Regions from separate parts of the Homo sapiens genome. Here all the other regions are linked to region 4. Evidence: promoter capture Hi-C in 16 types of primary human blood cells and fetal thymus (Javierre and others, 2016). All regions are on one chromosome and are shown on one strand. The core of a region is centred on a gene start or on the middle of the fragment in contact, and the rest is flanking DNA. Distances in the headings are between cores, read along the strand shown.

Region 1 (3,619 bases), core at 511-3,010, 320 kb after region 4:
AGAGAGAGAGAGATTGTGCTTTAGAGTTTTTGGGAGTTTTGAACATAGGAGTGAAATGGTAAGATCTGTGTTTTCACTCTGGTTATCATATGAAGAGTGGATTGGAATAGATGACCAGGTGTGGATGGCGAATTTAGGATGATAAAAGGGTTTTAAGGCTTTTGGACCAAAATGAGATTCTAGTCATTGATAGATGGATCTATACAATATGGAGGGATCCCTCTGGTTTTAGTATCACTGGGATTATTAGAAAGTAATGTCATTTGGCTGGTGACAGAGTCTCACTGTGTCTCCTAGGTTGGAGTGCAATGGCACCATCTCTGCTCACTGCAACCTTGACCTCCCGGGTTAAAGCTATTCTCCTGCCTCAGCCTCCTGAATAGCTGGAATTACAGGGGCATGCCCCCACCCACACCTGGCTAATTTTTATAATTTTAGTAGAGACAGGGTTTCACCATGTTGGCCAGGCTGGTCTTAAACTCCTGACCTCAAGCAATCTACCCGCCTCGGCCTCCTAAAGTGCTGGGATTATAGGCATGAGCCACTATGCCCAGCCATGGCTAGTTGTTTTAAATTTATGTTTCATTCCTGTTCTTTAACATGGCAGTTATACAATTTGATAATAATCCTTTTTAAGCTTTCATCTATATAGATTTGTATGTAAGAATTTAAATTCTACTATCAAGTCAAAACTGCTCTTCTCCCTGGGCATTTTCCTTGTTTTCCTCTATTGATTTCAGGCCATATGATATATATTTCTTGAGGTTTGATGATTGACACATACTAATCATCAAATGAAAATAACAAAAACATTGATAGCACAGGCTACATTTTACTTATTTTAGTGTCCCCAGTGCTAAGCATGTTGTCTAATTTGCAACAATTTTGAAATTAATATATTAATTTTCTGTTACTGCTGTAATAAGTTACCACAAATTTAGTGGCTCAAGACAACAAATAATTTGTTACTTTGTGGTTTTGATGGTCAAGAGTTCAACATCAGTCACAGAAGGCTAAAGTCAAGGTGTCAGCAGGGATGACTCATTCTGGAGCTGCATGGGAGAAGAAACTTCCTTGCCTTTTTCAGCTTCTAAAGGCTGCCTATGTTCCTTGGCTCTTGGCCCCTTCCTCCATTCTCAAAGCCAGCAGTATAGCATCTTCAACCTCTCTCTCTGACTTCTGCTGTCATTGCCACATGCCCTTCTCTGACCCTGATCCTCCTGCCTCCCTCCTGTTAGGACACTTGTGATTACATTGGGCCCACCTTGATAAAGCAGGATGATCTCCTCATCTCAACGTCCTTAACTTAATCACATTTGCAATGTTCCTTTTGCCATATAAGATCATATATTCACAAGATTTAGGGGTTAAGATGTCAATGTCTTTGGGGGGAACATTATTCCATCTACCATAAAAAAATTTGTTTTGTTGATACGATATTTTAATGTGAGTTGATAGGTAATTGATGGGTTATTAACTAGGAGTCACCACGATGAGACTTCCTGATCTTAATGATCATTAAGATGTTTACAGAAGTATTTTACTCTTTACTATAGTAATGGAGGTTGTTTGGATGAGTGAAAATCCCAACTTTGAGAAGAAGATATAATGGTACAATTGCTTTTAGCAAGTAATCATATTAAAAATCATAACCTCTGGTTTAAACAATTGTTTAATCTTCCTGATTTTGATGAGATATTATTTGGTCACCCTATTCATATCCTCATAGGTCAAATATTATAATGTAGTTTTAAAAATAGTGTCCAATAATCATGGATCTGTGAAATTTAGTCATGGTAGGACCAAGAAAATGGTATTACCATTTTCTTCTATTCTTCCATTGCTTCTTTCAAATCCTGGAGAATCTTTATAAGTTTCACACAGTTGCTATATCTCATTAAAAAATATGTGGAAATATATTGGAAGGAGAGTTTGAATCCTGGTTACTTTCCTAAATTAGCATCAACAATTACCAAGGAGTCACTCATATTGTTAGAGGGCAGAGCAGGTAATTGTGCATCATGCACTAGGTGAACAATTAACATGTAATTTGCATAGCTTAAAATCAGATATTTTAAAAACACAAGATTTTCATTGTAAAGGGGGTAGTAAACATTATCTTTTAAATATACTGGAATTTTTATAACTAAGTACTTTGATGCATCTTCCATTCATTCAAATACTTATGAGTGTCTACTCATGTAACATCCTGCTGGGCACTGAGACAGAGCTGTGGGGCAGAAAGTTTTGCATGATGTAATATGTTACCTTCTTTTGGGATACTATCAGTATAACTGATAAAAATACTTCAGGCTGGGTGTGGTGGTCCACGCCTGTAATCCCAGCACTTTGGGAGGCTGAAGGGGGTGGATCAACTGAAGTCAGGAGTTCGAGACCAGCCTGGCCAACATGGTGAAACCTTGTCTCTTCTAAAAATACAAAAATTAGCTTGGCATGGTGGCAGGCATCTGTAATTCCAGCTACTTGGGAGGCTGAGGCAGGAGAATTGCTTGAACCTGGGAGGCGGAGGTTGTGGTGAGCTGAGATCGTACCACTGCACTCCAGCCTGGGCGACAGAGTGAGACTCTGATTCAACAACAACAACAACAAGATTGCTTTTTCTCCTAGTTGACCATTAGTTGGGAGCTAACTAGATATTATTTTAATTAAATAATCAGATATTTATAGTTCTTTTTTCCCCCTCTCTATAAGAGAGACATACTTGAATCGGAGTTTTGGAAAAATTTCCTCCCTGGTGAAAAATTTGGGAAAATCTCTGTTATATGCTTGTAGTCAACTTGTTGGAGAAGTTGCTTTAACAACAGAAAGAGAACAATTTCAGTCCTTAAGGAGCTCATGATCTAGTTTTAAGGGACAGCCTGGTAAGCTTATAATGGAAGATCAGAGAAATATAAGAACTATGATAAAATAGATATCTGTCCAGGGTGCCGAGGAGCACAGAGGCTCAGACTGAAATATGAGTTCCTCCAAGATTTTCTTTTCTTTTCTTTTCTTTTTTTTTTGAAACGGAGTCTCGCTTTGTCGCCCAGGCTGGAGTGCAGTGGCGCAATCTCGGCTCACTGCAAGCTCCACCTCCTGGGTTCACGCCATTCTCCTGCTTCAGCCTCCCGAGTAGCTGGGACTACAGGCGCCTGCCACCACGCCCGTATAATTTTTTGTGTTTTTTTTTTTTTTTAGTAGAGACGGGGTTTCATCGTGTTAGCCAGGATGATCTCGGTCTCCAGACCTCGTGATTTGCCCGCTTCAGCCTCCCAAAGTGCTGGGATTACAAGCATGAGCCACCACGCCCGGCCTTTTTTTTTTTTTTTTTTTTTTTTTGAGATAGGATCTTGCTCTGTTGCCCAGGCTGTGGTGCAGAAGCATGATCATAGCTCACTGTAACCTTGAACTCTTGGGCTCAAAAGATCCTCCTGCCTCAGCCTCTGAGTAGCTGGGACCACAGGAACTCACCATCACGCCTAGTTTTTTCTCATAGATAGTTTTTTCTCTTGTTATGTTGCCCAAGCTGATCTTGAACTCCCGGGCTCAGGCAATCCTCTCACCTCAGCCTCCCAAAGTGCCTCCAAGTTTTTCTCTAGGAAACAGTGCCCTCCCTAAG
Region 2 (3,471 bases), core at 438-2,937, 400 kb after region 4:
TCTGGATTGGGATTGAAGAAAATAAAAATTCCTTGTGGTTGTCTGTGCGTGTGTGTGTGGCGCACCTGAAACCATGTGTGGGTGTTTCAAGAGAAACCTTGCTCTTTGGCAAAAGCAAGCACAGCTAACTTTTGCTAACTCAGTTCTGCCCTAGAGCTGACCTCCAGAATGGTCTGTCCAGAGTGAGTGAATCCTCAGAAGAGTTGGCTGGTTCATCACTGTGCTGGCCTTATAAAACTGCGGATTAAACAACGCTGTGGACGGAGGTTAATCACTGATTTACTCTGTAATCTTGGCAAGTTTTCTTTTAGGATGTATAAAAGGGCTGCACCCAGACACCTGCAGAATGGAAATGTACTTGCTCTTCCAGTTGAAAAGACAGCCTGACCCCACTGATGCCTTTCCTCTATTATTAGTTGGTCGCAGGAATATTTGTTCTATTTCCAGTTTGCAGAATGTTTCCATACCCAAGGATATAGTGAGAGCAAACAGGCTATCCCTAATAAGTGCCTGAGTGCCCCATAACCCCAAAAGGTGCTCGATAGCTGGGGGCTCAGTAAACCCAAAGCTCAGCTTTCTCAGGATGCTTTATCTGCCCAGAACTTGCTTTTGAGTTCTTACTGACATAATCAAGCAGGTAGATGATAAAACCCTGTAGTGACACCATTCATTGTGGCTTGTTTACTTTACTCCCCTTCGCAGCAGTCAGCCCGGCAGGAGGTCTCTAAAACACTCCGTTGAATGATGGGATGCAAACCTCTCTCCACAGTTGAGGCTCTCTGCTTCTCCTGCTACCTCACACAGGCGCAGGTGGTTTCACTTTGGGGGGCACTTAGGAAGGGATATTTATAGCTCACTCTTCCTCTTCCTCCTCCTCCTAGCAAGCAGTCAAAATAATAAAATTAAGCTTGTGGTAGAAAGCGTTGGAGAGGGTTGCTAGAAAGAGAGGGACAGAGACGGAGGATTCAGAGGCTCTTGATTGGAAAGGACCAGCATTTTCCAATAAGTCAAAATAACAGCAAAGTCTGAGCTCCTGGCTGCACTGGTTGGGAGACAAGAATCCCTTTGCTTAATCCGACTTATGTGGCTTACTACCTACATGACCTTGGGCATGTTATTTAACCTATCCGTGCCTCAGTTTCCCTTTCTGCAATATGAGGATAATAAGGCCTATCTCACAGAGTTGTTGCAAGGATTAAATTAGCTAACACGTGAAATGTTTAGAACTGTCTCTAGCACATAGTAAGCACTACACGACTCTTGGCAAACGTCATTAATTTTATATGGATTAATTCATTGTCCTTTTTCTACCTGCCTCATCCATCTACTGACTTCAGGTAAGCATACTCTTCTTCTTTTTTTTCTTTTTTTTTTGAGGCAGAGTCTCGCTCTGTCGACCAGGCTGGAGTGCAGGGGCGCAATCTCGGCTCCCTGCAAGCTCCGCCTCCCGGGTTGACGCCATTCTCCTGCCTCAGCCTCCAGAGTAGCTGGGACTACAGGCGCCCGCCACCACGCCCGGCTAATTTTTTGTATTTTTTAGTAGAGGCGGGGTTTCACCGTGTTAGCCAGGATGGTCTCGATATCCTGACCTTGTGATCCGCCCGCCTCGGCCTCCCGTAGTGCTGGGATTACAGGCATGAGCCACCACGCCTGGCCTCCAGGTAAGCATACTCTTAATTTGAACTCTGCAATAACCTGTATGAGGGAAGCAGGGCAAGTGTAATTACCATCCTTTTACAGATGAGAAACTATGGATAAATTCTTACACAGTCCTGATTCTTACTTATATACCTATATTTTCTCTTTATTTCTCCTATTCACTTTAGCACTTTCTACTAGGTAAAAGTAGTAGATTATAGATAGATTTATATATAAAAATTGATCTAGCCACCTGTAATCTACTACTTTTTATAGTATATACTATATATAAATAAGTATAATATATAATCTACTACTTTTACCTAGTAGAAAGTTATATATATATAAAATTTGTTGTATACCAACTATATACCAGAAACTGTTGTCAGTGCTAGATATAGAAAGGTGAATGAGAAACATAAAGTCTTTGCTGTCTTGGAGTTTATAACTTCCTCTTATCTCATCTGTTAGAATCTAAGCTCCTGGCAGGGAGGAAATATGTCTAATTTATCCTTATGTCTATCAGAGTTTTCTAGCACAAAGTTTTGCTCATAGTAAGTATTCAAACAGTTGTTGCTACAAAAGTTATAGCTCACATTTGAGTGCATACTAATGTCAGACACTGTGTTGTTTTACATTATTATCTTGCAAATCCTACAGTAACAATCCTCTGAAATTGGTATTTTTAGTAGTCTTATTTTATGATGGAGAAACCAATATTGGAGATTTGCCTAGGTTCGCTCAAATAGTAAGTTGTTACAAAACTCAGTCCAGCCTTGCTTGACTCAAAATGTCATGCCTTTTGTCCTTGGAAATAAAGTTGAGATGAATAAGCTTTACTAAGTTATCTTAATAGGTAGGCTAATGGAATCCCAAAGTAGTTAAACAAGCTACTGAAATTGGCATACCTCCTTACTCCTCTCTGACCTTTTTTGCTGAACTCTTTATACTCACCCAAAGAATAAAATTTCCTACATGGGCTAGGGCATTGACCTCAGGGTTTCCTTGTTTCCCTGGCATCTATGTTTGGTAGTAAATTTATGCTCTCTTGTGTTCTGTTGGCAAGGAAGCAGCTATCTAAATACTGGGCTGTTGCCACAGCCCTGGGAAATAGAAACATTGGTCATTCTACTTGCCACACAGCCTAAAACATGCAGCCTATTTTTGGCATATGCAGAGTAAGGTATGCAGAGTAAGGCAATAATTAAACAGTAGTTTGCTTAGTGAATACGTTACAGGCCTAGGTTCTGTGAAGGCAATATGGAGTTTAAAATATTTATTTTATTTGTTTATCAATTGATGTATATGGTCCTACCTAAGTATACAGGACTTGTTTTAGTGTCTTCAGTTCACCAGAAAGATGAGTAATCTTAATTTCTACATCTAAATTTTATGGTGTTCTTTCAAAACAAATCAACCTCCTGGATAAATGTAGGGATTATTTTTTAAATGAAAAACTGAAAAGATAATTTTCATCTCTATATCTCCTTATCACAGCAAAAGGGCATGATTCAGTGATTTGTTAGTCTATCATTTAAGGAATGGCCATTGGCAAATACTAAAGACAATTTTTTTTGCATGGTTTGTGGAATCAGCCTCAGTACTTTACTCTCACTCACTCACATATTTAAAAATTAAAAAAAAAAATTAAAAACCTTCTTGCCACAGAGAAATAAAGGGTAGCCACAACAGATCAGCAGCTTAGAAATGGAAATATTTTAATTAATTAATTCATTAAGTAAGTACTTATTAAGCCTCTGTCTAGCACAGAATTAAACTAGCAGATGAACACTGGCTCTAAATATAAGAAGGTCATTCATTAATTCACAACTG
Region 3 (3,540 bases), core at 680-3,179, 460 kb after region 4:
TCCTGGTTCAATTAAACACAAGATGTGTCAACTTGGTCCAGTTACTTCCTCTTCCTTAATTTGATTATCTGTAAAAACTAGGATAATAATACTCATCATTTGGATCGAAAGTTCAGTTAAAATACAGAATATCTAGAACCATAAAAATCAACATCCATCAAACTCATATACCATCCCAGGCACTATGCTAAGTACTTTACATGGATTATCTGATTTAATCCTCACAAAAATTCCTTTACATGAGTACTATAATTATTCCCATTTACCAACTAGGAAACTGAGATTAGAGAGGTTAAATCGTTTGCCCAAAACCACAGAGCTAGGATGAGGGGAGCTGAGCTCATCAGCCCCGGCATACTGATTTTAGAGTTCACGTTCTTAAAGCATTCTGTTCTATAAAATGCAACTGCGTCTGGAATTGGTGGGTTCTTGGTCTCACTGACTTCAAGAATGAAGCCACGGACCCTCGCGGTGAGTGTTACAGTTCTTAAAGGCAGCGTGTCCAGAATTTGTTCCTTCTGATGTTCAGATGTGTTCACAGTTTCTTCCTTCTGATGGGTTCGTGGTCTCGCTGGCTCAGGAGTGAAGCTGCAGACCTTCGCCATGAGTGTTACAGCTCTTAAGGCGGCGCGTCTGGAGTTGTTTGGGCTTCCCGGTGGGCTCGTGGGTGTCGCTGGCTTCAGGAGTGAAGCTGCAGACCTTCGCGGTGAGTGTTACAGCTCATAAAGGCAGTGTGGACTCAAAGAGTGAACAGTGGAAAGATTTATTGCAAACATCGAAAGAACAAAGCTTCCACAATGTGGAAGGGGGACCCCAGCGGGTTGCCACTGCTGGCTCGGGCAGCCTGCTTTTATTATTATCTGGCCCACCCACGTCCTGCTGATTGGTAGAGCCCAGTGGTCTGTTTTGACAGGGCGCTGATTGGTGCGTTTACAATCTCTGAGCTAGACACAAAGGTTCTCCACTTCCCCACCAGATTAGCTAGATACAGAGGGTCCACACAAAGGTTCTCCAAGGCCCCACCAGAGTAGCTAGATACAGTGTCGATTGGTGCATTCACAAACCCTGAGCTAGACACGGGGTGCTGACTGGTGTGTTTACAAACCTTGAGCTAGATACAGAGTGCTGATTGGTGTATTTACAATCCCTGAGCTAGACATAAAGGTTCTCCTCATCCCCACCAGACTCAGGAGTCCAGCTGGCTTCACCCAGTGGATCCCGCACCAGGACTGCAGTTGGAGCTGCCTGCCAGTCACGCGCTGTGCACCCGCACTCCTCAGCCCTTGGGTGGTCGATGGGACTAGGCGCTGTGGAGCAGGGGGCGGCGCTCATCGGGGAGGCTCGGGCCGCACAGGAGCCCACGGAGAGGGTGGGAGGCTCAGGCATGGCGGGCTGCAGGTCCCGAGCCCTGCCCTGCGGGAAGGCAGCTAAGGCCCGGCGAGAAATGGAGCGCAGCGCCGGTGGGCTGGCACTGCTGGGGGACCCAGTACACCCTCCGCAGCCACTGGCCCCGGTGCTAAGCCCCTCATTGCCCCGGGCCGGCAGGGCCGGCCGGCTGCTCCGAGTGCGGGGCCCGCCAAGCCCACGCCCACCCGGAACTCCAGCTGGCCCGCAAGCGCGGCGCGCAGCCCCGGGGCTGGCCCCTCTCCCTCCACACCTCCCTGCAAGCTGAGGGAGCAGGCTCCGGCCTTGGCCAGCCCAGAAAGGGCCTCCCACAGTGCAGCGGTGGGCTGAAGGGCTCCTCAAGTGCCGCCAAAGTGGGAGCCCAGGCAGAGGAGGCGCCGAGAGCGAGCAAGGGCTATGAGGACTGCCAGCACGCTGTCACCTCTCACAACTTTGAGGCAACTCTTGATAAAAAATCATTTCCCACAACCAGGTTTTTTGATACCAGGTTTGATACTAGGTATCTTATGATGACCTATAAAACAGATACCTACCTGCCCCGTACCCCCAACCCTGCCATGGACAGTTAAGGTGAGATCCCTTTGTTTTGCCAGAGGTAGCTTGGTCAAGCTCCTGTAATAAAAAGCAAGGATTCTTACTATACAGATAGAATAAATGGCAGGTTACTCTACAGAGCTTTAAGGGCAGGAAAGTTAATCCTGTGTTCTGCTTACTGTCTGTGGCAAAAACAGCCCCTTGTTGTCCACTCCCATCTTTGATTCAGTTGACAGACAGCTGCAGCTTAATTGGCCTGCTACACGGTATGTTTGGCTGGATTTTGTGGCAAGCAGAGTCTGGTGGGGGGCCTTAAACAAAGCTCACCCAGCATGTCTTCTGCCTTGCCAAACTCTAAAAATAGAAAGCTCAACTTCTGCAGAGCTAAGGAGCTGAACTAGTCAATGGTTAGAAGATAGGTTTGTCATCTCAAGGGTGGTTTGTGTTTCCTATTAACTGGGGTTGGAATGACAAGGGGCAATCTTTTGAGCACTAAAGTCTGGACAGAATGGCATATGACCGCTATGCAAAGGACTGAATCCTGGTTATAAATCATAGCAACAACAGCCTGAAACTGAGCTATCACAGACTCTTAAATCTCCAAAGTGTGGCCTGGGTAAGCCATTATGAGAACTCTGCCTTCTCAGATAAAAAAAATTCCATGCCTCAGAGCTTAAAGCATACCTCCCTATAATCCATTTCTTTGTTCCAGCCAGACTTTCTTTCTGGAATTTTCCTCCATGCTCCGTGACCTGATCAAGGGTTAAAGAGGATTCCATATCCCACACTACATTAGAGAAGAGTGACAGCATATCAGAGAGAGGCATTGTGGACCTGTGTTTAAGTCAGCCTGTCTGAATCCACATCCTGGCTCCATCCTTCTTTACTAGGTATGTAACCTTGGACAAGGCCTTTAATCTCCATGGGTTTCATTAGACTAGGTTTTGTTATCTATAAAACATGCTTAATAAAAGTTTCAACTTCATAGAGTGGTTTTGAGAATAAAATAAAATAATTCAAGTAAAGTACATATTTTAGAGAAAATGCATCTTCATAATGATTATTAATATCATGTATCATCTGGGAAAGTCTTAGTATGCCTACTGGAGGGACTCAGGAAAGAAATGAAGATGAAGCTTGAGATAATTTTAGAAATACAAAAGGATTCAGAGAATGGCAAAGGAAACTCAATTCTATTTAGAAATAAAATATTCTAAAAAACTATACTCCCAAAGAAAAGGTTTTCTCATTTTGGTAATTGGGGCCTGCCTATTAGCATACCCACGAAGTCTTCTTTCCCTTCAGCATGTTGTTGAAACATACTTCTAGGACTACAGAGAAAATTACTATCATTATTAATCACTGTAGTCATAAATCTAAATGAACAGTGAAAACTTATTTGAGAATAATCTACTGCGTATAAGAAAGAGTGAAAAAACATTATTGAAACTGGAAGAAACAGAAATTGTGCATGCAAAAGAGGAAACTGGATAAAAATTCTACCAAGTAACATTGGAAAATTTAGAACTCTGTTTTAGCCAAATAAGAACAGGCTGCAATGATAAAGAACCAGTCAAAGAATAAGAATTAAATTTAGGAAAT
Region 4 (3,772 bases), core at 872-3,371:
AGACAGGGTCCTGCTCTGTCACCCACGCTGCTGCAGTGCAGTGGTGTGATCACAGCTCACTGTAGCCTCGATCTCCTGGGCTCAAGCAATCCTCCCGCCTCAGCCTCCCAAGTAGCACATGCCTGGCTAATTTTTAAAAATTTTTTTGTAGAGATGGAGTCTCCCTGTGTTGGCCAGGCTGGTCTCAAACTTGTGGCCTCAAACGATTCTCCCATCTCAGCCTCCCAAAGTGCTGGGATTACAGGCATGAGCCACTGTGCCCTGCCTTTTTAAAAAAATGTAAATTCTCAGTCCACAGTGTTGAGGATGTGAGAGTGAAGGGCTGCTCATCAAGAGGCTTGCTTAGTTGTTGAGTGTAGGTAAGACACTTAAAGAGAGTCACATTCTTGGGAGAAACTAAGATTCTTCCCTTGCTGTAAGAGGACACCATAAGAAGCCAAGGGTTGGCTCTGAACAGAGGGTCAAGCCAACCAGGCCCTGCTGTTATCACCTACGGAAATCCTGTGTGGCAGTAAATACAGTCCTCAGCAAAGCCTGGAGAAGAGATTACAGGGGGCACAGAGGGGCTGGGGATGCTAATGTGGAGGTTATTGGCCAGATAGTGGCCAGGAAACCAGAGACTAGGGGGGGTTCAGTTGGAGGAGCATAGGCGGAAATGGGAGAGAAAAATAAATAAATGAGATAAGCAACTTCATTTGCTTCCTCCCTTATTACTCTTTTGTTTTGTGTTTAGGACTCTGGTCTCCCCTGAGGTTGATCTCTTCTTCTGGGGACAACAGCCTGCAGGGTGATTTTGAAAAGCAGGCTCTGACTTCTACTTCCTTGTCCTGTACTCACCCCACCTGGTGTAATTCACCGTAATGCAGTGAACTTCCACATGGCTGCTGGGCATGCTTCCCAAAGCCAGCCCCTGGGCAGGGTTTCCCTTAATTTAGACCCCTGTCCCTACCTCTCCAAGTGCAAAGTGTACAAGGCTACACGCCCAGCTGCCCCCCACCCCCATACACACACTGGAGAGACCAAATGTTTGAGATCACTGTTGGGTAGCTGGGTCAAGAGAGCTTCATAACAATGTTGTTGGCATGTGGAGAGCTTTTCTTTTTCTTGGATCCCAACTGGAAATTATCAGCTTCGCCCCATGCTGACATGCGAATGTCCAGGCCTGCCTTTCTGCTGCAGGGCAATGCTCCAGGTTACAACATCGACACCAAGCAGTTTGTTGAGAAAACTTTGGACCTCATGAGCTGGGCAAGAGCGGCCTGGCAGGTGGTAGGAGAGCAGCCTGTCCATGCCTCAGCTGTGGCTCCACTGGCTCTGTGACTGTGCAGATTTTCTAACTTTTGAAGACCTCTGTTTGGATATCCATAAAATAGGTAAGATGGTGCTAATACCTACCTGTGATGTTGTGAAGATTTAATAGCATAATACTTAAAAGCACTTTGCATACATTAGCAAAGTGCCTAAATATTAGTTATTTGGCGGAGGCTATTAACCAGTGTGCTATGAGGTGCAAAGTAAGTTGTTACCAATAACTCAAAGAACTCCAGTTTGCAAATGTTTTACTTTTACTTAAGAGAATCTTTGCGGGAGAATTAAAACCAATTAATTCCCACCACTGGCCAAGAGCTCATGCTGTAATTATCCAAGACAGAATAGCTCAACAGAAAACCAAGTCATGCAATTCTGAGCACTTGTCCTTGGGATGCCACTTTGGGGCTCCCATATCTGAAATCATTTTGTTCTCAGTCCACCTGTGTGACATTTCTGTCCTGCTCAGCCACGGGTTCACAATAATCAAGGGAATGACCCAAGGGATTCACTTCTTCCAAGCAGCCGATGCCTTTGGAAGTTATGTTGACATTGCTTGTTTAAACCTAGGGCAAGAAATCCTTTCTCTGCCAGACCTGACTCTTCAGGCACACTCCTCAGTTTGGAGACGTGACTTGCCATGTAGTACTGAGAGGGAAAACAGGCCAGAAACAGCCTTGTTGAAAACTTCTTTTCTGCTTAGCTGCCCTCTGAACAGTCACCATAAAGATTGTGAGGTGCTGGAGCCAGGGATGACCTCATAAAGCCCTTTGCTAAATACTTAGTGAGCTGGTACTGTGGGCCAGGCACTGTGCTCATCATGAACAAAACCAAGGCAGACAACACTGTCATTAATGGAGCTTATCATGTAATACGGAAGCCTGGGATAAGCAACAAATTACACAAGTGACAAATGTGATGAGTGCTGTGAAGCAGAGTGCGGGGTGCCCAGGGAATCAGCAGAGCCCTGGAGGATAACAGCCTGAGCTCCAGGAAGGAAGGTTGTGGTGGTGCTTAGGGTCAGAGTGGGGACAAGCATTCCAAGCAAAGGGAAAAGCACATACACATGCTATATTAGTCAGGTTTCTCTAGAGGGACAGAACTAACAGGATAGATGTATAAATGAGGGGGAGCTTATTAAGTAGTATTGACTTGCATGAGCACAAGGTGAAGTCCCACAATAGGCTGTCTGCAAGCCGAAGAGCAGGGAAGCCAGTCCGAGTCCCCAAACCTCAAAAGTAGGGAAGCTGACAGTGCAGCCTTCTGAAGGCCCCAGAGCCCCCGGCAAACTGCTGGTGTAAATCCAAGAGTCCAAAAGCTGAAGAACTTGGAGTCTGTTGTTCGAGGGCAGGAAGTATCCAGCACGAGAGAATGATGAAGGCTGGAAGACTCAGCAAGTCTACTCCTTCCATGTTCCTCTGTGTGCTTTTATTCTGGCTGTGCTGGCAGCTGATTAGATGGTGCCCGCCCAGATTGAGGGTGGGTCTGCCTCTCCCAGTCCACTGACTCAAAAGTTAATATCTTTGGCAACACCCTCACAGACACATCCAGGAACAATAGTTTGCATCCTTCAATCTAATCAAGTTGACACCTAATATTAACCATCATACATCCCCTCCATGGGAAGGAGCATGATGCCTTATATAGTCTACTACCCTCAAACCAATCCTACTCCCTCATCCCCAACACCTTCTTCCCCTGGAACTCTAGATAGAGTTTCTTGACTAGACACATAAGCACAATTAGGCTATGCCTAATTATGAAGCCATCCCGGTTTATACATTTTCTTGTTATACTTGCCTATTTACAAGTTTTTCTTGTGAAAACTTGCCTATTCTTTTTGCTGCCTCCTCTCCACCCTAAAAGAGAAACTCTAAGGAAACACTCCCAGAGTTTATTATAGTTATTATGACTCAGATTTGAAGACTAGAATTTAATGGAGGTTTTCCTAACATTCCTTGGGGACTTGAAGGACTTTTTTTCCCACCAGCCACAGAAGTAAGATTATAAAACATTTATTTATTAAAAGAAAAGAAATCTTCTGGGCTCAAAGTTCTAGTTATTCTAAAAGCAGAGCACTTGTTCCATGTTTTCATATCGCCTCCCCACACCTACCTCTCCTCTCCCATTCTCTATTTCTTTATTTCTGTGCTGTAGTAATAAGCAAAACAGAGAAGCAATTGGTTTTAGTCTTGGATCTTGACCTTGCTGTGTGGCCTTGGCCAAGTCACTTCCCCTTTCTCAGCCTCAGTTTCTTCAAGTGTAAAATGAGAGATTGGATGGATCAGAAGATTCAGGCCTCCTTGAAAATCCCCATGGGTGAACCCCAACACACAGGCTATTCAGCCAGCAGCCCCAAGTCCTTTATGAAAAGCCAAGGTTGATTGAAACTCTCCCTTCTCAGGAGAGAAACTAGAGGCAAAGCTTCCTCATCAGCAGAGATAAACTTGGCAGGAGCCAATTC
Region 5 (3,409 bases), core at 728-3,227, 420 kb after region 4:
TGCCTACCCTTGGATTCATGTCGAGATCTGCTAACAGGATCAAGTGAATGAAATATTTAGATTCTCCTAGGACAGTTACATACAGCCATGCACTCCAGCTATGAAAGGTTTGGTGCCTACTCTCCTCTCTTACTGGGCCTGGCTGATGAGAACATCATAAACACACCCTTATTACAACACTGGAGTAGTCTTTGTGTTTGAATCCCCAACATCCCATCCTCTCCTCCAAGGAATTACTTTGACCCGAACCTGTTAATTTCATTCCTCTTTGTAGTGGTTGGTTTAGGGATGGGCTTGTGACCCACTGCTAGCCTTTGCTCTGTGGAGGGGAGTATGCTGGTGTCTCCTGGGAACACTACCTTCTTCTCAGGAAGAGAAGAAAGATCTCCTTTTTTGTATCTAGGTGTGGCCCATGGAAATACTGTAGACACCTCACTACATCTAAAGATGAAAGCAATACCAGGTAGGAGAGATACTGAAGACATTAGACAGAGCCTTGATCCTTTGTACCTGGAACTCGTCTTCCTCCTGATGAGTGAGAATCTGAGCTGAGGACAAGCTTGCAGAGCTATGCCATATATCGATTCCATAACTTTTGGAAAATTCTTAATTTCTCTGAATCTTGGTCACCCCGTTAGTGAATAGACCTAGCTTAGCTGGCTGTTGTGAATTAATATATGCAAAGTGCTTAGAAGAGTGGTTGGCATATAGTAGACACTCAATAAATGTTAGCTATTCTTATTATTCCTATTTTTTTTTGAGAGAGTCTCATTCTGTCACCCAGGCTGGAGTGCAGTGGCGTGATCTTGGCTCACTGCAATCTCCGCCTCCCAGGTTCAAGTGATTCTCCTGCCTCAGCCTCCCGAGTAGCTGGGACTACAAGCGCGTGCCACCACATCCAGCTAATTTTTTGTACTTTTAGTAAAGATGGGGTTTAACCATGTTAGCCAGGATGGTCTTGATCTCCTGATCTCGTGATCTGCCCGCCTTGGCCTCCCACAGTGCTGGGATTACAGGCATGAGCCACCGCACCTGGCCATTATTACTATTATGTGAAAACATAGCTTTCTTATTGCTCAAGCCATTTTGAATCCGGTTCTTCTGTTATTTTAAAATATAAATATTTACCAATATTAAATAGCATAATTGACACCTTGGCTTTGCTCAAAGGTCATATTTTTAGGAATGCCTTCACTGACCAACCTATTTAAAATTATACCCTTCCTCTAGCATTACCTATCTTTTCTCCTAATTTGTTTCTCACCAAAGGACTTACCATCATTTTATATATATTTTATTTAGTTATTTGTTGACTCATTGTCCCACCTCCTCCTTGCCTTCCCCCACCATAACCCACAGTGTATAGATGAGTACATGGTACAGAGTAGACCTTCAATAAACGTTCATTGGTTGAATAAGTGATGTATCATGCTCTACCTGGTAACACTGTGCAACAAGTAAGGTAGGCAAACCTGTACACCCTTAAGTCACAAGGGTGATAGGCAGGCAGCAAAGACAATGCTACTTCCTCCAGAGGGCAAGTGAAACAATTTAGGTTACTACAGAAATTACTAGACAAAACAGCTTATTACTTTCCAGATCGTGCCTTTACTCTGATTTTTAAAAATGTTAGCATTTTAAAAGATCAATAGATATTGTATCAGATTGTGGGAGCTGGCACGTCTGAGGGCTGGACACAGGGACAGGAATTGTTGGAGTCTTGAGGCAGAATATATTTTTCTCTAAGAAACCTCAGTAATTGTTCTTAAGACTCTAAACTGATTGGATGAGGTCCACTCACATTATTGAAGGTAGTCTTCACTTAAAGTTAACTATTATTAGGTTATCTGCCATGACTTTCAATGGCAAAAACCGCAATTACTTTCGCACCAACCTATAATTGTAGCTGTTCTATCTACAAAATACTTTCATGGCAGCACCTACATTAGCATTTGATTAGGTAACTCTAAGCTATTCTCTAGCCAAATTGATACATAAAACTAACCATCACAAATATAATAAGAGTAAAATACATTAAAGTTCTGTAGCTGATTTAACAAAGGGCTCTTCAAATACTCTTCATTGGTATTAAAGATTAAACGACACAAAACAAATTCACAAAATCTTTTGATATATAGTACACATTAAATCAGCTGATTCATGAGCCAGACTCATTCGGATTCTTATAATGCAATAATGGCTTTTCTCATGGTAGTATTCTAGCTAGGCTTTCAATCATGACATGAAATTCAGTACAAAAATACTTTTTGAACTAGGAGTCATTCATTCTCACAAGGGTTTTTGGAGCTGGCGAATGAGTAAATGCATGAGTGAGCATTCTTGTCGAGTGGTCTTATTTAAGTGTATTGTCTAGAGGTGCCTGGTTTAGAGTCTGATTGTCAATACAAACACTTGTAAAGATAAATTATTATTGGAGTTAAAATATATTGAGGTCTTACTATGTTCTTGGAAATGCTAAACACCTTATACGATAATCTCATTTAATCTCTACTGCAATCCTATGAGGTAGGAGCAATGTTTGCCTTCATTTTATTGTTTAGTCCCTTGGACTATAAAGTCCTTAACATCATGAATCATCTCTGCTACTTCCATTGTCTCACTTCTCACACTCTGGTTCAGAGCTTCATTCCAGTTGGGTCTAAAGCAGAGCTGATTATTAGACAGGCCAAGTTCATTAAAAGTCTTGCTTTTAAAAGAGGCCTGAGAGGGCTCACTTTAGCTATCCAAGGAGTAATAAACCTGTGTCTTTTCAACTGAACCTTTAATTGTGATGCTGCCAAAACCAAAGTACCTTGGGTTGGAAATCTGAATGGTGACACACTTTGATCAAAAGTGGATCTATTATTTGTGCCACACAAGTTTTGAGTTTAGGGTTCATTTCAATGTTCCCTTCAATTCAGAAAAGCATAATTTCATTTTAAGGGAAAAGAAAACAATTGCTTTAATAAAAATCTTTATGAACAAGGTTCAGAGCGTTTCTTGGACAACAAATGACTGTTACAGAGCAACATTGTGGTGAGTTAAGTGTAAATGGTTCAGAAACATGCAGATTAAATTTCCCTGAAAACACTCAAGGGCTTCCAAAATTAATGGAGGGAAAATACTTGGACAACATATATTTCAGACTTTATAGTTTTTTTTTTCTTTTTCACTCTGTTGATTTTATTTTCCCCTACAACACTTCCTAGGGTGACTTCATCTCTTGTGGTAAGGATGCTGTCAGACCAAGTTATCATTAATTCTGATGCATTCTAGGTGGCCCAAACTGGGTATCAGCTGTATTCCCTCCCTTACAGAGTTAGCTTTTTCTTTCTATTATTTGTTTTTCAATATAGGAAAGGTATAAAAATAAAAGCACAATTCAAAGTCTGTGGAAAGCTTTTAGGCC
Region 6 (3,683 bases), core at 493-2,992, 380 kb after region 4:
GAATAGTCAGTGATCAAATACTCTGATCCATATTCTTTGGCAGAAATTATAAGCCAGGTCTTCATCTAAAAGAAGAAATGTGATTCCGGGCAAGATGGCCTAATGGGAACAGCTCTGGTCTGCAGCTCCCAGCAAGACCAACGCAGAAGGCAGGTGATTTCTGCATTTCCAACTGAGGTACCCAGTTCATCTCATTGGGACTGGTTAGACAGTGGGTGCAGTGCATAGAGGGCGAGCTGAAGCAGGGTGGGGCATCACCTCACCTGGGAAGTGCAAGGGGTCAGCGAACTCCCTCCCCTAGCCAAGAGAAGCCCCAAGGGACTGTGCTGTGAGGAATGGTGCATTTGAGCCCAGATACTACACTTTTCCCACAGTCTTCGAAACCCACAGACCAGGAGATTCCCTAGGGTGCCTACACCACCAGGGCCCTGGGTTTCAAGCACAAAACTGGGTAGCCATTTGGGCAGACACTGAGCTAGCTGCAGGAGGTTTTTTTTTGTTGTTGTTGTTTTTTCATTTCAGTGGTACCCAGAACACCAGCAAGACAGATCTGTTCAATCCCCTGAAAAGGGTGCTGAAGCCAGGGAGCCAAGTGGTCTAGCTCAGCAGATCCCACACCCATGGAGCCCAACAAGCTAAGATCCATGGGCTTGAAATTCTTGCTGCCAGCACGGCAGTCTGAAGTCAACCTGGGATGCTCAAGCTTGATGGGGGGAGGGACGTCCACCATTACTGAGGCTTGAGTAGGCAGTCTTCCCCTCATAGTGTAAACAAAGCCGCCAGGAAGTTCTGACTGGGCTGAGCCCACTGCAGCACTGCAAAGCCACTGTAGCCAGACTGCCTCTCTAGATTCCTCTTTGGGCAGGGCATCTCTGAAAGAAAGGCAGCATCCCCAGTCAGGGGCTTATAGATAAAACTCCCATCTCCCTGGGTCAGAGCACCTGGGGGAAGGGGCGGCTGTGAGCGTGGCTTCTGCAGACTTAAACTTTCCTGCCTGATGGCCCTGAAAAGAGCAGTGGATCTTCCAGCACAGCGCTCAAGCTCTGCTAAGGGACAGACTGCCTCCTCAAGTGGGTCCCTGACCCCCATACCTCCTGATGGGGAGACACCTCACAGAAGAAGTAGACAGACACCTCATACAGGAGAGCTCTGGCTGGCATCCAGTGGGTGCCCCTCTGGGATGAAGCTTCCAGAGGAAGGAGCAGACAGCAATCTTTGCTGTTCTGCAGCCTCTGCTGGTGATACACAGGCAAACAGGGTCTGGAGTGTACCCCCAGCACACTCCAGCAGACCTGCAGAAGAGGGGCCTACTGTTAGAAGGAAAACTAACAAACAGAAAGCAATAGCATCAACATCAACAAAAAGGATTACCATGCAAAAATCCCATCCGAAGGTCATCAACATCAAACACCAAAGGTAGATAAATCCAAAAAGGTGAGGAAAAGCCAGTGCAAAAAGGCTGAAAATGTCAAAAACCAGATTGTTTCTTCTCCTCCAAAAGATTACAACTCCTTGCCAGCAAGGGAACAAAACTGGATGGAGAATGTGTTTCACGAATTGACAGAAGTAGGCTTCAGAAGGTAGGTAATAACAAACTCCTCCAAGCTGAAGGAGCATGTTCTAACCCAATGCAAGAAAGCTAAGAACCTTGATGAAAGGTTACAGAAATTGCTAACTAGAATAACCAGTTTAGAGAAAAACGTAAATGACCTGATGGAGCTGAAAAGCACAGCACGAAAACTCCGTGAATCATACACAAGTATTGATAGCCAAATAGATCAAGTGGAAGAAAGGATATCAGAGATTGAAGGTCAACTGAATGAAATAAAGTGTGAAGGCAAGATTAGAGAAAAAAGAATAAAAAGTAACAAGCAAAAACTTCAAGAAATATGAGACTAGCTGAAAAGACCAAATCTACATTTGATTGTTGTACCTGAAAGTGATGGGGAGAAGGGAACCAAGTTGAAAAACACTCTTCAGGATATTATCCAGGAGAACTTCCCCAACCTAGCAAGACAGGCCAACATTCAAATTCAGAAAATACAGAGAATACCACAAAGATACTACTTGAGAATAGTAACCCCAAAACACATAATAGTCAGATTCACCAAGGTTGAAATAAAGGAAAAAATGTTAAGGGCAGCCAGAGAGAAAGGTTGGGTTACCCACAAAGGGAAGCCCATCTGACTAACAGTAGATCTCTCTGCAGAGAACCTACAAGCCAGAAGAGAGTGGGGGCCAATATTCAACGTTCTTAAAGAAAATAATTTTCAACCCAGAATTTCATATCCAGTCAAACTAAGCTTCATAAGTGAAGGAGAAATAAAATCCTTTAGACAAGCAAATGCTGAGGGATTTTGTCAGCACCAGGCCTGCCGTACAAGAGCTCCTGAAGGAAGTACTGAATATGGAAAGGAAAAACCAGTACCAGTCACTGCAAAAACATACCAAAATGTAAAGACCATTGACACTATGAAGAAACTGCATCAACTAATAAGCAGAATAACCAGCTAGCATCATAATGATGGGTCAAATTCACACATAACAATATTAACCTTAAATGTAAATGGGCTAAATGCCCCAATTAAAAGACACAGACCGGGAAATTGGTTAAAGGGTCAAGACCCATCAGTGTGCTGTATTCAGGAGACCCATCTCACGTCCAAAGTCTCACATAGGCTCAAAATAAAGGGATGGAGGAAGATTTGTGAAGCAAATGGAAAGCAAAAAAAAAGCAGGGGTTGCAATCCTAGTCTCTGATAAAACAGACTTTAAACCAACAAAGATCAAAAGAAAGAAAGAAGGGCATTACATAATGGTAAAGGGATCAATGCAACAAGAAGAGGTGAGTATCCTAAATATATATATGCACCCAATACAGGAGCACCCAGATTCATAAAGCAAGTTCTTAGAGACCTGCAAAGAGACTTAGACTCCCACACAATGAGTGGGAGACTTTAACACCCCACTGTCAATATTAGACAGATCACTGAGACAGAAAATTAACGAGGATATCCAGGACTTGAACTCAGCTCTGGACCAAGCAGACCTAATAGACATCTGCAGAACTCTCCACCCCAAATCAACAGAATATGCATTCTTCTCAGCACCACATATCACTTATTCTAAAATTGACTACCTAATTGGAAGTAAAACACTCCTCAGCAAATGTAAAGGAATGGAAATCATAACAAATGGTCTCTCAGACCACAGTGCAATCAAATTAGAACTCAGAATTAAGAAAGCCACTCAAGCGTGGCCAACGTGGTGAAAACGTGTCTCTATTAAAAATACAAAAATTAGCCAGGTGTGGTGGTGGGTGCCTGTGATCCCAGCTGCTTGGGAGGCTGAAGAAGGAGAACTGCTTGAACCCAGAAGGCGGAGGTTGCAGTGACTGGAGATTGCGCCACTGCACTCCAGCCTGGGTGACAGAGTGAGACTCCGTCTCAAACAAACAAACAAACAAATGAAAAAACTTACTCAAAAGTGCACAACTACATGGAAACTGAACAACCTGCTCCTGAATGACTACTGGGTAAATAACGAAATGAAGGCAGAAATAAGTAAGTTCTTTGAAACCAATGAGAACAAAGACATGACATACCAGAATCTCCAGGAGACAAGTAAAGCAGTGTTTAGAAGGAAATTTATAGCACTAAATGTCCACAGGAAAAAGGGGGAAA
Region 7 (3,495 bases), core at 870-3,369, 360 kb after region 4:
CTTCGAATGATGAAGCAATCTGAGAGAAGACTCTAGAATTTCACAATTTGCTTGCTTTAATGTTTGACCAATCTCTCACTTACATCTTATTTTAGCAACTTCCCTTCATTGAGCTTTTCCAAAGCATTTAATTTTGCTTTGGTATGAACAACTCTCTTTTTCGCTTGCTATGGGTTTGCATCATATTCACTTAAATTGCATAATAATATTAATGAGTGCAGTTGTCATGAAAGGGTGTGTAAGCTTTCAACTCAATTGGTGAGAACTGAAATATGTGGTTGCTCTGAGAATGCCCTTCTAGCTGGGTGCTTTAGAAGGAAATGGGTGTCACTATGTTTCAAGAAATTTGGTTACGGGAGTTTGACTCAATATGGCAAGGATATCAGTTCTTCTAAAACTAGCTTATAAATCTAATGTGATTGCCAGAACTTCATAAACTGGTTCTGAAATTCATATACAAGAATTCTAAAAAGATAAAATTGGTAGAAAGCAAAGAAAGATAACTAGTCCTACTGTATGTCAAAACATGAGTTTATAGTATCTGTAAGAGTCAGGATAAGAGCACCACATCAAGAAAATACAATAAAGAAAACAAATCATGTGTATTTAGAAATTTGGAATTAAAAATGACATTTGAAAATTGGGAGAGATTGATATTAGGACAATTGGCTCCTCATATGGAAAAAGAAATCCAATGTCTTCATATTTTATGCAAAAAACCTACCCCCAGACAACAACAAATAGCTTAAAGATCTAAATGTTTACATATATGTTATAAAACTCCAAAAAATAAAAATACAAAAATCAAAAATACAAGGAAATATTCACAGTTGACCATATCATAAAAGAGAAAGAAAACTTCTATATAACAAAAAGACATCATAAGTAAAGATAAAATACAAGCGGCCGGGCGCGGTGGCTCACGCCTGTAATCCCAGCACTTTGGGAGGCCGAGGCGGGCGGATCATGAGGTCAGGAGATCGAGACCATCCTGGCTAACAAGGTGAAACCCCGTCTCTACTAAAAGTACAAAAAATTAGCCGGGCGCGGTGGCGGGCGCCTGTAGTCCCAGCTACTCGGGAGGCTGAGGCAGGAGAATGGCGTGAACCCCGGGAGGCGGAGCTTGCAGTGAGCCGAGATTGCGCCACTGCAGTCCGCAGTCCGGCCTGGGCGACAGAGCGAGACTCCGTCTCAAAAAAAAAAAAAAAAAAAAAAAAAAAGATAAAATACAAGCAACAGACTGGGAGAAGACTTTTTTTTTCACATACAAAAATATTTGTACCTTAAAAATATAAAGAATATCTACAAACCAGTACAAAATTGCGATGACAGACATCCAAATAGAAAGAAATAGGCAAAGTCTACAATAGGCAAGACACAGAAGAGGAAATACAGCCGGCCAACAAAACATGAAAAGATGCTCAATTTAAGTACTAACTAGAAAACCGTAAAATAAAACAATGAATAAGACATAATTTTTACCCATTAAATAGGCAACAAACAAATATATAAATAAAATACAAAGTACAATAAGAACTGGGAAGAGGCTGAGTGTGATGGCTCACAACTGTAATCCCAGCACTTTGGGAGGTCAAGACCGGTGGATCACTTGAGGTCAGGAGTTTGAGACCAGCCTGGGCAACATGGTGAAACCGTGTCTCTACTAAAAATACAAAAATTAGCCAGGCATGGTGGTGCATGCTTGTGATCCCAGCTATTTGGGAGGCTAAGGAGGGAGGATCACTTGAACCCTGGAGGCGAAGGCTGCAGTGAGCCACTGCACTTCAGCTGGGGCAACAGAGTGAGACCCTGTCTCAAAAAAAAAGAAAAAAAAAAAAGAACTGGGAAGTTTGTGGAGAACTAGATACTCCAATACATTGCTGATGAGACTATAATGTAGAGTATATCATAATATGCCACTTCAGAGGGCTACATAGCAGTAGTCATTAAAATGAGAAATGCATCTACCTAAGACTTCCCCTTTTTTAATATCCAGCCTACACTTGCACATGTGGGCAATAATATAGGTAAAAGGACGTTCTCTGGAATAATGGTGAAGTAAACAATCCACAAATAGTAGGATAGCCAATAATTGGATTCACAAGACATAGTATTCCACAAAAGTTAAAAATAATATACTGGTTATTTATATAATGACAATAGATAGAGCTAAAAATACATATTGTTGCATGAAAAATGTAAGTATTGATTGACACTTATAGTAGCAGTTTCTATGGGTACATATACATAAGTTTGAAAATATTAAATAACATAGATTTAAAAGTCCTAACAGAGCTAACTCTAGTGATTGAGTTGATGTTAAAGAGGAGTTTAAATTTATTGGTTATGACTTTTTAAAGAAGACCATATTTGTGTGTTCCTTGTGTAATTAAAAATTAATTACATATGTATCAGTGAACATATCTAATTTCTAATTCATTGAGGACAGGACAGATAACTGTATTTCCAACACAAGCACAGTGCCTGGCACAAACTCAATAAAGTTTGGTTAAATGTATAAAGAAATGAATGGATTAATAGATGAATGGTAAGATAAACGAGTAGGTGGGTGAGTAGATACAGATTTGGGGATCTGATTTGGGTGGGGCTGGAGGAAACACGTATGTTTTTTAAAGCCTCATAACCTTTTCATTGATGGTCCCTTGAGAATGGTGACGGGTGGTGTATTAGTCTGCTAGGGCGGCCCTAATCCAGTAATACCGAGGACCTTATAAGAGACATCAGATTCTCTCTCTCTCTCTCTCTCTCACCCCCTGACCCCCCCACCCCCCACCCCCCACCCCCATACATGCATGGAGGAAAGCCCATGTGAGGACAGAGAGAAGGCAGCTGTCTGCAGGACAGAAAGAGAGTCCTCACCAGAATCCAACTCTGTTGGTGCCTTGATCTTGGACTTCCGGCCTCCAGAACTGTAAGAAATAAAACTCTGTTGTTTAAGCCACCCAGCCTGTGACATTCTGTTATGGCAGCCCTGACTAACACAGGTAGCATAAGGAAATATTTAGGAATGGGCTTAGCAAGCCCATTCATTTTTTCACTACTTAAAAATTAATGTAACTGGGCCCAATGCTCTGGTGTGTGTGGTAGGGAAGCCCTCCCCTGCCCTGCTCATGCCTGACTAGGTACCCACTGTAACATTTTCCCCCTCAGGAGTCCAAGACTCCAAACTTCTGGGAGAAAATGAACGAAGGAGACAGGTTTTCTTTATGGCTCCAAATTTCATGAAATGAAATGTTGCAGGATATATCTATCTGCAATAGAACATGTTAAGTATTGCTTTCCATTGAGTGCTCATGAAAACAAAGGAAGGAGAGTAAAGAGTCAAGGCAAAAATCCTCCTGTATGGGGGTTAGGAGGATCCACTCTTTTAGCAGTTCATCTTTGTATTCTTAATGTGGCCTTGTATTGGCCATGTTGGTGATTTGTTTGGGGACTAATGTGCCTAGCTTTGTTCATAGGAAGGATCTAAGGCAA

Evidence for each region. Contacts are between HindIII fragments. The CHiCAGO score rates a contact against its expected background, and 5 or more counts as called.
Region 1: a fragment that was not itself captured here is called in contact with the fragment with the promoter of LINC01352 in region 4 in 1 of 17 cell types (neutrophils); the score reaches 5.3 in neutrophils.
Region 2: a fragment that was not itself captured here is called in contact with the fragment with the promoter of LINC01352 in region 4 in 3 of 17 cell types (neutrophils, monocytes and M0 macrophages); the score reaches 14.5 in neutrophils.
Region 3: a fragment that was not itself captured here is called in contact with the fragment with the promoter of LINC01352 in region 4 in 1 of 17 cell types (neutrophils); the score reaches 5.2 in neutrophils.
Region 5: a fragment that was not itself captured here is called in contact with the fragment with the promoter of LINC01352 in region 4 in 1 of 17 cell types (neutrophils); the score reaches 6.3 in neutrophils.
Region 6: a contact is called between a fragment that was not itself captured here and the fragment with the promoter of LINC01352 in region 4, in 1 of 17 cell types (neutrophils). The highest score is 6.2, in neutrophils.
Region 7: a contact is called between a fragment that was not itself captured here and the fragment with the promoter of LINC01352 in region 4, in 1 of 17 cell types (neutrophils). The highest score is 8.1, in neutrophils.

What each region holds. Positions count from the first base shown.
Region 1 is chr1:221,150,166-221,153,784 of GRCh38, forward strand. No RefSeq gene overlaps it. Among named protein-coding and RNA genes, the nearest start is that of LINC02817, 180 kb to the right of the region's middle. The HindIII fragment of the contact is 2,250 bases long and covers 636-2,885 here.
Region 2 is chr1:221,228,100-221,231,570 of GRCh38, forward strand. No RefSeq gene overlaps it. Among named protein-coding and RNA genes, the nearest start is that of LINC02817, 110 kb to the right of the region's middle. The HindIII fragment of the contact is 1,565 bases long and covers 906-2,470 here.
Region 3 is chr1:221,284,389-221,287,928 of GRCh38, forward strand. No RefSeq gene overlaps it. Among named protein-coding and RNA genes, the nearest start is that of LINC02817, 50 kb to the right of the region's middle. The HindIII fragment of the contact is 2,285 bases long and covers 788-3,072 here.
Region 4 is chr1:220,827,134-220,830,905 of GRCh38, forward strand. LINC01352 (long intergenic non-protein coding RNA 1352) reads left to right here and starts at 2,122. Exons shown (of 4, transcript NR_110797.1): 1 at 2,122-2,309; 2 at 3,560-3,772. The HindIII fragment of the contact is 6,544 bases long and covers 1-3,730 here.
Region 5 is chr1:221,247,859-221,251,267 of GRCh38, forward strand. No RefSeq gene overlaps it. Among named protein-coding and RNA genes, the nearest start is that of LINC02817, 87 kb to the right of the region's middle. The HindIII fragment of the contact is 2,840 bases long and covers 558-3,397 here.
Region 6 is chr1:221,206,501-221,210,183 of GRCh38, forward strand. No RefSeq gene overlaps it. Among named protein-coding and RNA genes, the nearest start is that of LINC02817, 130 kb to the right of the region's middle. The HindIII fragment of the contact is 1,117 bases long and covers 1,185-2,301 here.
Region 7 is chr1:221,188,496-221,191,990 of GRCh38, forward strand. No RefSeq gene overlaps it. Among named protein-coding and RNA genes, the nearest start is that of LINC02817, 150 kb to the right of the region's middle. The HindIII fragment of the contact is 3,757 bases long and covers 242-3,495 here.